Regions from separate parts of the Homo sapiens genome. Here region 2 is linked to region 1. The links are contacts of gene promoters, found by promoter capture Hi-C in blood cells and fetal thymus (Javierre and others, 2016). All regions are on one chromosome and are shown on one strand. Each heading gives the region's core, a stretch centred on a gene start or on the middle of the fragment in contact. The rest is flanking DNA. Distances are from core to core; before and after follow the strand shown.

Region 1 (5,019 bases), core at 1,379-3,878:
ACTAAAAATACAAAAATTGATGGCCGTGCACGGTGGCTCACGCCTGTAATCCCAGCACTTTGGGAGGCCGAGACAGGTGAATCATGAGGTTAGGAGCTCGAGACCAGCCTGGCCAGTATGGTGAAACCCCGTCTCTACTGAAAATACAAAAAATAAGCTAGGCATAGTGGTGGGCGCCTGCAATCCCAGCTACTCAGGAGGCTGAGGCAGGAGAATCTTTTGAACCTAGGAGGCAGAGGTTGCAGTGAGCCAAGATCGTGCCATGGCACTCCAGCCTGGGCGACAGAGTGAGACTCTCTCTCAAAAAAGTAAAATAAAAATACAAAAATTAGCCAGGTGTGGTGGCACGCGCCTGTAGTCCCAGCTGCAGGCTGAGGCAGAAGAATGACTTGAACCTGGGAGGCGGAGGTTGCAGTGAGCCGGGATTGCACCACTGCACTCCAGCCTGGGCCACAGAGCGAGATTCTGTCTGGAAAAAAAAAAAAAAACAAAAAAAAAAAAACCTTGCTTTAAGCACCGAAAAAGTTGTGAAAGTTGTGACCAAGCTCCCACATCCTGAGAACTCTGGGACTGCTGGCCAATAGTACTTGTTATGTAGTTGGGCTGGGATAAATAAAGCCCACTTAATTTAGTGCTAGATATCCTGTGTGGGCACCTAAGATGGTGTCTCAATATGTTGTGTAATACCAATGAATGTATCACATATGACCAAATATGCCAATGTTTCTTAGCTCCCTGCATATTTACTGCTTTTTCCTCCCACTCTCACCAACTCTTGAAAAGGCCCTAATGGCCCTAACTTCATCACCAGTATTAGAACTAGAATCTACTCTTTTTATGGATACACTCACACTCACTTATTCCAACAACCCTATGAGGGAGGTAGTAGTCTCATTGTATAGTAAAACAGGCACAGAGATCAAGTTACCGAAAAGCATGACTTTTGTAATTAGAGCAGTTTCCCGGATTCTATTGCTGTATCTTACTACCTGCACACTAGTAAACCTGGGGTTTACAGGCTACAGATCCTTTCAGCTCTGATACCCCCACCACTCTACAGCCCCTGAACCCCCTCCTCCAGCCTGCTCTTACTGTCCAGATAATGTTTCAAATACATCCCTGCATCCATCTCGAAGCAAAACAAAGCAACTTCCAATCCGCCCCGGGTTGGAAGTTCCTCTTCTCCACATATTTGGTAGAAATTATATAGCTGAAAGTCTGTCTCTTTAAAAACTTGCCGTAAGACATTGGTAATTCTTATGAAGGATGTGTGAGGGTACGAAAAGTGTGAGGGGTGGCAGCTATCTCTAAAATACTATCTTACTAACACCACTATTAGGTTATGGCCTTTGTGTTGGCAGTGTGTTGACAGCCTAGTGTGTTGGCAGCCTCTCATACCCTTGACTGCTTCCCATTCTGATGAAAACCATAGAAATCACTCTACCATAGCTGACTAGAGTGATGGCTAGCAACTAACTAGCCAACTAGCCCAGTAGTGATACTGCTGCATCCCTCAATCCCTTCAGAATTATGATGCTAACATCACATATAAACAAAAGGAAAACAAAAACACGAGATTTCCCCCTTAGAGAGTAGCAAGAGGGGCCAGGCACAGTGGTTCGCACCTGTAATCCCAGCACTTTGAGAGGCTGAGGTGGGCAGATCACCTGAGGTCGGAAGTTCGAGACCAGCCTCACCGACATGGAGAAACCCCATCTCTACTAAAAATACAAAATTAGTCTGGCGTGATGGTGCATACCTGTAATCCCAGCTACACGGGAGGCTGAGACAGAAGAATCACTTGAACCCGGGAGGTGGAGGTTGCGGTGAGCCATGATCACGCCATTGCACTCCAGCCTGGGCAATAAGAGTGAAAATTCTGTCTCAAAAAAAAAAAAAAAAAAGCAAGAGGGCAAGGCAGGAAGTAATATTTTATATGTGAAAGTGTATTCTAGTGTAACGTACAGGAGCTCTGACAAAAGATGTGCAGAATTATAGCTTTATTATGAGTCATTCTTTGTATTTATAAGTAGAAAGGTGATCATCTTTCTCAAGTTAAAAAAATAATGCTGGGGGAGATGGTGTTTGTGTGAGTGAATAGAAATTCAGACGGTTTAAATGTCTCAAGGCCTGATACTCTTCCCCAACTTCCTTAAGAAACTAACTGGCTTGAAAAAAGTCATTCTGCAAAAGAGGGAAAAAAAGTTGGATCTTCCAGTTGCTGAGAAGGTATGTTTACGCAATATGAGCCTAAAGTGAACAGTTACCCCTGCACGGATTACCATACATTCCCGTTTTGGAGGGAAAAAAGTTTGCTAGAGAATGCAAAATGGCGACCTCCAGTGACGTCATACCTGTCTCGGTCGCGTCCTGGGGTGTCTGTAAGGGCGGAAGCGGGCTACAGCCGCCTCACTGTGGGCGGTCGTGGCTACCATGCAAAAGGAAAAGTTTCAGTGTCGGGCGGATGTGTACCGGCGGTAATATAGTAAGGGCGGAAGTTCTCCTTTAAGGGCGGAAGTTCTCCTTTTAAGGGCGGAAGTTCTCCTTTTAAGGGCGGAAAGGCTTTAGCCGCAAAATGGCTTCGGCCCCTGTCGCGTTACAGTCACTTCCGGGGCGGATCGGAAGTTGCTTTGTTTTGCTTCGAGATGGCTGCGGGGATGTATTTGGAACATTATCTGGACAGTAAGAGCAGGCTGGAGGTGGGGGTCGGGGCTGCAGAGTGGTGCGGGGATCAGGGATGAGAGGATCTGTAGCCCTTAAGTTCCAGTGACGAGAAGGTCACAATTATGAAGCGGTTCTGTGGCAGGAAATATTGGAGGGTGCGGAGAAAGAGGGGGCGGGGCAGCAGGATCGAGGCCCCGCTGATGGGTGTAGACGAGGGAGGGGTGCGGTGTGGGGGTTAGAGACGTGTCTTGAAGGGCTAGTGTGCATGGCCAGGAAGATAGTTGCTGCCCCCATTCTCCAGGGTCTCCAGCCTCGGTAGATTTTTTTCCCCATAGTCGTTCAGAATCGTTATCACACACTGCCATTTGGAGAAGCGGTAAAGACCTCTCCTCCACTCCATTCTTCCTCAAAAGTGGCTTCTCATGGGGTTGAGAGTGGTGGTGATGAGTGACCACTGTCAGATGATGAACTAGAACGCTTCTCTTCATGGAGTAAAGATCTAATTCCCATCAAATGAAAATCTGGTGTTTATGCGATTTATGTAAACCACCCCTGCAGAAAGCCTATTGCTCTGTGCGCTTACATTTGTTTTAGGGCCCGGAGTCATTTATTCAACAAATATTTATTGAGGTCCTGCTATGGGTCAGACATAATGGCAGGCACTAGGGATAGAAAAATGAGTAAGACAAGGCTCCTGCCCTCAAGAAGCTCACGATCTAGTAGGAAACAGATTCTGCAAATAATTATAAAACACTGTGACAAGTGAGATAATGGAAATACATTAAAAAGGACACTTGGTAGGCAACCCTGGAGAAAAGGGGGGTAATTACCTGGGGATGTAGGAAAAGCTTTACAGCGGAGGTGATGTTTGAATAGGGTCTTGAAGGTTATTTGCCAGTGAGGAGAGAAAAAAGGAATTCCAGGTTGGGGAAAGCATCCGCAAAGGTACTGTGATGGGTTTGTGGCAAGGTCAAGGGTGTTTGATATTTATGACTCAGAGGTCAGCGTATTTGATATTTATGAATCTAAGGTAAGAAATTGAGAAAGGAGACTGGAGAAAGAGGCTGAGGCTAGATTGGACAAGGTCTTTTAAGCCAAACGAAGAAGTTTGCATTTTAAAGTAGAGTATGATTTTTATAGAGGAAAATGACTAATATATGGTAAATTGGAGCATGATATTGTTGATAACAGAGATCAATTAGTGATAACATTCCAGGACAGAGATAAGAACCTGATTTTAGGGAGTTACAGAAGTATTTAGGAGTTAAATATGAAAGGACTGACTGAATGACTGAGTGGTTGAGAGAGAAGGAAGAATCTAAGGTGGCTTCTTCCTGCTTAGAAAGTGAGGTAGACAGGCTGGGCACAGTAGCTCATGCCTGTAATCTCAGCACTTTGGGAGGCCAAGGCGGGCAGATCACTTGAGGTCAGGAGTTTGAGATCACCCTGTCCAACATGGTGAAGCCCAGTCTCTACTTTAAAAAAAAAAAAAAATTAGCTGGGCATGGTGGCATGTGACTGTAATCCCAGCTACTTGGGAGGCTGAGTCAGGAGAATCACTTGAACCCAGCAGGTGAAGATTGCAGTGAGCTAAGATCATACATACCACTGCACTCCAGCCTGGGTGACAGAGAAAGACTCCGTGTCCCTCTCAAAAAAAAAAAAAAAAAAAAAAACAAAGGCTGGTGGCCAGGCACGGTGGCTCATGCCTGTAATCCCAACACTTTGGGAGGCTGAGGCAGGCGGATCATGAGGTCAGGAGATCGAGACCAGCCTGGCTAACATGGTGAAACCCCGTCTCTACTAAAAATAAAAAAAATAGCCAGGTGTGGTGGTGTGCCCCTGTAGTCCCAGCTACTTAGGAGGCTAAGGCAGGAGAATCGCTTGAACCTGGGAGGTGGAGGTTGCAGTGGGCCGAGATCATGCCACTGCACTCCAGCCTGGGCAACAGAGTGAGACTCCGCCTCAAAAAAAAAACAAAAACAAAAAGGCTGGGAGCGGTGGCTCACGCCTATAATCCTAGCACATTGGGAGGCTGAGATGGGTGGATCGCCTTAGGTCAGGAGTTCCAAGACCAGCCTGGCTAACATAGTGAAACCCCGTCTCTACTAAAAATACAAAAATTAGCTGGGCGTGGTGGCAGACGCCTGTAATCCCAGCTACTTGGGAGGCTGAGGCACAAGAATTCCTTGAACCTGAGATTGCGCCATTGCACTCCAGCCTGGGCGACAAGAGCGACACTACACCTCAAAAGAAAAGAAAAGAAAGTTACTCAGCGGAGAAAAGATCATGCCAACTGCTGCAGAGATATTTTTTAGGATAGGCTTAATAACACCATTAGATTTGGTAAATCAC
Region 2 (5,019 bases), core at 1,177-3,676, 270 kb before region 1:
TGCCTCAGCCTCCCAAGTAGCTGGGATTACAAGCGCACACCACCACACCTGGCTAATTTTTGTATTTTTAGTAGAGACGGAGTTTCACCATGTTGACCAGGCTGGTCTCGAACTCCTGACCTCAGATGATCCACCTGCCTCAGCCTCCTAAAGTGTTGGGATTACAGGCGTGAGCCACCATGCCCGGCCTTTTTTTTTTTTTTTTTTTTTTCAACTACAGCTATTTTCCCACATTTTTTAGTTGTTATGTAGACTGGTTTTAAAATACTATCAACCAAAAAAAAAAAAAAATCCGAAGAACAACACCCACCATAGCAAAAGAGGAAAACAATCTTAAACAAAAAGCACAACAAAGATGACTATTTGTGATTGGTGTATTTTTGCCAGCCCTCCTAGAGAAGGGTGTCCATCTCCCTTCCCCATCACAGAACCTGTTCACCAAGTCAGTTAGGTTAGGGGATCCAAAAGGTCAGAGAAACACAGGAATGTACCTGAGGAACACAGCAATCATAGTATGCCCTTCTTTTTTAATCACCTGAAATCTGATAAAAACTAGCAATGAGAAGCTTTGAAGGAGAAAAGCAGTCATAAAAGAACAAGTAATCCTGGGGATAAGGAGTGGCAGACGAGGAAAGGAGTTAGGGGTGGATTGTGTGTCTTTCTAGACCTGGGTCATGTTTTAGCACCAGCCTACACTCCTAGCAGGCAATCACTGTAACTAATATTACAGAGCACCTACTCTGTATCTGGCCACATACTAAGCACATTCACCTTCATTACCTTGCTTTATTTTATTTATTTATTTATTTATTTATTTATTGAGACGGAGTCTCACTCTGTCACCCAGGCTGGAGTGCCGTGCCGCGATCTCGGCTCGGCTCACTGCAAGCTCCACCTCCCGGGTTCACGCCATTCTCCTGCCTCAGCCTCCTGAGTAGCTGGGACTACAGGCGCCCGCCACCACGCCCGGCTAATTTTTTTGTATTTTTACTAGAGACGGGGTTTCACCGTGTTAGCCAGGATGGTCTCAATCGCCTGACCTCGTGATCCGCCCGCCTCAGCCTCCCAAAGTGCTGGGATTACAGGCGTGAGCCACTGCGCACTGCCATTACCTTACTTTAAAAAGAAAATGATTAAGACCAGACTGGGTTGGGAGGAAAGTGAGAACTAGAAAAAGAGCCCCTAAGTAAGAACAGGAAAAGAAATTAAGAGAGAAATATGGGATGTCAGAAGGAATACAGTGGAGTCACAAGCTCTCTGGGAGGGGCTCGCAGGCTAAATTTCAGGATCATTGGCCCAGCCCCCAACATCATTCTGGACCTGCCAGACTAACAAACCAGTCCAAAGTGACTCCTAGATAACAATGCAGCCCAGACCAGCAGATAACGATGCACTGGCCTAAGCCTTCTGAGAATCCGGGACCTTCAGAGAGGCCTCAGAGATCATCTCATCTATAGCCCCTTCATCTTAACAATGAAGCCCAGGCTCAAAGAGAAGTGACTTGCCCAAGGTCACAGAGGCACAGCCAGGTCTAGACACAGGTCTCCTGGCTCCTGTTCTATAGTATTTCCCCTGCATGAAGCTGTTTCACAGCCCTCTGTCCTGGGCCACCCTCACCTGGGATGGGCCTGGGAGCCCAGCCATTTCTACAAGGTCAGGGAAGAAGGCCAAAGGTTAGTTGAGGGAAAGAGGAAAAGGGTTACTCAAGAAGGGAGGCTCAAAGAGGAATTCAAGTTTTAGAAAATGAAAGAAAGTGCAAAGAAGCAAAAAGACAACTCTACAAAAAATAACATAATAAGGGAGGTAGAGGTCAGAACCAACTGCCAAAAGATGGTGTAACCTGAACAGAAGCGTTTTCATCCTCCCATCATGCCCAGGTGGAGAGACTTGGAGAAACACCTATGATCTGCAAGGAACGTATCTACCTGTTCCAACAGACTTCAACATGAAAGGGTGCACACCGTGGGGAAACTCCCAACCACCAACAGATCCAGAAACAACCTCCAAAACCCAGCCCAGAGTCCCAAGGACAGCCACAGGCTGAGGTCCAATAAACATTCGAAGCCCCCCCAACCAATCTGACATCCCACTGGATCACTACCATAGCAACACAGTGGCAAAAGGTGCCCCTCAAGAGACCATCCCAGGTGTCCATCTGGCAGCTACCCCCTACCCCAGTTGCCAAAGCAACTCCTACCCTCCTATAGCACCTCAGGTAAGGGAGCTTGAAGGTACCTACCCTAGTCAAAATAAGCCCATGCACAAAGGGAGATCTTTGAGCTCAAAGCAGTAACTAAGGCCTCCCTATATAGATCACAGCTCCAGGGGCAGCGGACGCTCCGGAAATTGGAGGGTGGAGGGTGGAGGTCGCAACTTGCCTGGAGTGCCTGTAAGGTTGCTCAATTCTCCATTTCCATCCTCCCAGAACCCCTTTCTTCCCAACTCCCCCTTCTGTGTTCCTGTTTTCCTCCTCACTAGTTTTGGGATAACCCACACTACTGGGCCCCAGTGCCCTCTCCAAGAAATAACTATGTCTGGGATAGGGAAAACAGGGTCAGAGGTGACCTGCAGTAGGGGAATGAAAACCGTCACAAAGACATGGCCTTCCCTCTTCCACGCTGGAAAACCTCCGGCTCTTCTCAAAAATGGACCTCTCTTTGCCCAAGCCTCCGTCTCCCCCAGGTTCATCAGCCACAATCCCTCTTTCCACCTACCACACCCCTTTCCCGTTTCCCACTTCCCGTCTATTCCTAAAGCCCCCAACCCCAGGCTCCGGAACCCGTGTTCTGGTCCTTTGGAGCTTTTTCCTGGAGGCTTCATGCCCCACCTCGCTGCCATCTCTCCTATCCATTCTGCCTTCGCCCGGAACCCCACTCACAGCATCCCCCGTTTTCCTCCGCCAACCCCGGCCTCGATGTTCCTCCTCTTTTGAGTCTGCGGGTCCCGGATACCCTCTGGCCCCACAGGCCTCCTCCGGAGACCCTCCCTCCTTCCCCACCTTCCCGATCCTCCCGAAACCCTGGCCCCCGACTCTCCTCGGCGGGCCCCACCCCCTGAGCCCCCGGCCCTCAGGCCAGGCAGAGCCCGCAGTGGGGGGACGGGATTGGGAAAATAACAAATGGAGGCGGCGGCGGCAGGAGGGGGAACTGGGAGGGGTGGGGGTGGGGAGCCGCAGGCCGGAGCCCGGGCGGGACAGAACCCCGCGGGCCCGGGGCCCAGGCGGCCGCAGACCTTACCTGCTGGTAGCTCGGGACGGCTGGCTGGCTCCGAGCGGGATTCCGGGCTCCGGCGCCTCTGGGGGGCGGCGGCGGCAGCTCCCCCGCCCCCCTCTCCTCTTCTCGGCCTCAGTCGCCGCCGCGACGACGGCGGCGGCGGCCCCGACCCCCCCGGAGGGCGGCCCCCATCCCCCCTTTTCCCCGCCTGGCCCCAATCGCCCGCCGGCCCCCGGAGCAAACCCCGATCCCCGCTCTGCTCCCCACCTCCCCGGGCTCGCCGCCTCCCCCTGGCCGCCCGGAATGCCCCGGGCCGCGCCGCCCGCCCCCGCCGCGCCGCCCGGCCCCGCGGCCCGCCCGGCCCTCGGCGCGGTTCCGACCCGCCGCCGCCCGCGCCCGCCTAGCGCAGCCCGCACCCGCGCGATCCCGGGCCCCTCGGCCGCCTCGCCCGCGGCCCCCGCCCCTTCCCCGGCAGTCGGCTCCCTCTCCCCCCTCCTAGCCCCTCCCCGAAGCCGCGGTCCCTCCGAAATGGCCCGGCCCGAGGCCCCGACCCGGCGCGGGGCTGCGGACGGGCTGGGCGGTGCGTCCGGCGACTCGCACAGGAAAGCGGACGGCGAAGGGAGGGAGCCTGGGAGAGGGGGATGGGAGAAGGGAGGAAGAGGGAGAAGGAGGGAGCGCGGAGGAACGGAGGAGAGAGGGGCCAGGAGGGAGACGCGAGGGAGGGAGCGCGAGGCAAGCCGCGAGGGGGGAGAGAGGGGGAGCCGGAGAGGGGGAGGCGCAGCGCGAGTTGGCCGAGGCCGAGGCCGAGGGGGCCGGGGCGCGGGGAGGGCTAGCCGTGGCGGAATGTGGGGAGCCCGCGGGCCCGGCGCGGGAGAGGGCTAGGTAGGAGGGGCTGTGGGTGGTGAGGGCAGATGAGGGGAGGCTGAAGTTTGGGGGCGAGCGGGTCTGTGGCAGAGGTGAAGTGGGAGGAGTTTGGGGGATCCTGGGGTAGAGATTGGGATAATGGGATTGGATTGGAAAGATGGAGCTGCCTGGGGGCTTTGTGGGTGCCTGGTGAGAAGTGAGAGAAGCTTGGGGTGAGGGATCTGTGGCAGAGATGGAGCCAGACGGGTTTGGGGGCTATTATCAGAGAGAATGGGATGGAAGTTTGGGGTCATAAGGAGAGAGAAAAATTGAAAAGATGACATATATAGAAAGATGGGGCTTCTGGAAAAAGTAAAGCTTTTGGGGGTGATTAGTGTTGACAAAAGAGTCATAAATATAAGAATTGGGGGTGGGGGGATGAAGGAATGCTGGAGAGAGAGAAGTCCAGAGGAAACGTCAGTGAGGAGAGAGAGGAGGGAACGCGTGAGGAACCTTAAGAAGGGATGAACGAGGTGGGCCCAGGTGCCAATTCTAGGGAAAATAGGTTCTGGGTGAGAAAGGAGGGCTCTGGATGGGAAAGAAGGGTGGGAGACACCGGGCTGGCTGGATCCTGGGGGTGGGGGCTCCCAGTAGAGCCGAGGAGGGTTTACTTGGGCGGGCAGAATGGGGAAGAGGGGGATAAGAAGATTGGAAGGAAATGTAAGCTGAACAAGGCCTATGGCTGGCGGCAGTATGGAAGAGGAAAGATCATGGATGGGAAAAGAAAATGGAGATGGGGCCGGTGCGGGGGCTCACGCCTGTAATCTCAGCACTTTCGGAGGCTGAGTCGGGTGGGTCACTTGTCAGGAGTTCAAGACCAGCCTGGCCAACATGGCGAAACCCCGTCTCTACTAAAAATACAAAAATTAGCCGGGTGTGGTGGCGCATGCCTGTAATCCCAGCT

Evidence for each region. Contacts are between HindIII fragments. The CHiCAGO score rates a contact against its expected background, and 5 or more counts as called.
Region 2: a contact is called between a fragment that was not itself captured here and the fragment with the promoter of ING4 in region 1, in 8 of 17 cell types (non-activated CD4 T cells, naive B cells, naive CD4 T cells and 5 more). The highest score is 11.3, in non-activated CD4 T cells.

What each region holds. Positions count from the first base shown.
Region 1 is chr12:6,660,728-6,665,746 of GRCh38, reverse strand. ING4 (inhibitor of growth family member 4) reads left to right here and starts at 2,628. Exons shown (of 8, transcript NM_016162.4): 1 at 2,628-2,682. The coding sequence starts at 2,646. RefSeq lists an enhancer at 2,598-2,657. The HindIII fragment of the contact is 5,227 bases long and covers 1-3,514 here.
Region 2 is chr12:6,926,602-6,931,620 of GRCh38, reverse strand. ATN1 (atrophin 1) reads right to left here and starts at 3,662. Exons shown (of 10, transcript NM_001940.4): 1 at 3,237-3,662. LOC124902868 (a long non-coding RNA gene) reads left to right here and starts at 3,925. Exons shown (of 2, transcript XR_007063194.1): 1 at 3,925-4,094. RefSeq lists silencers at 3,664-3,823, 4,004-4,053. The HindIII fragment of the contact is 3,716 bases long and covers 569-4,284 here.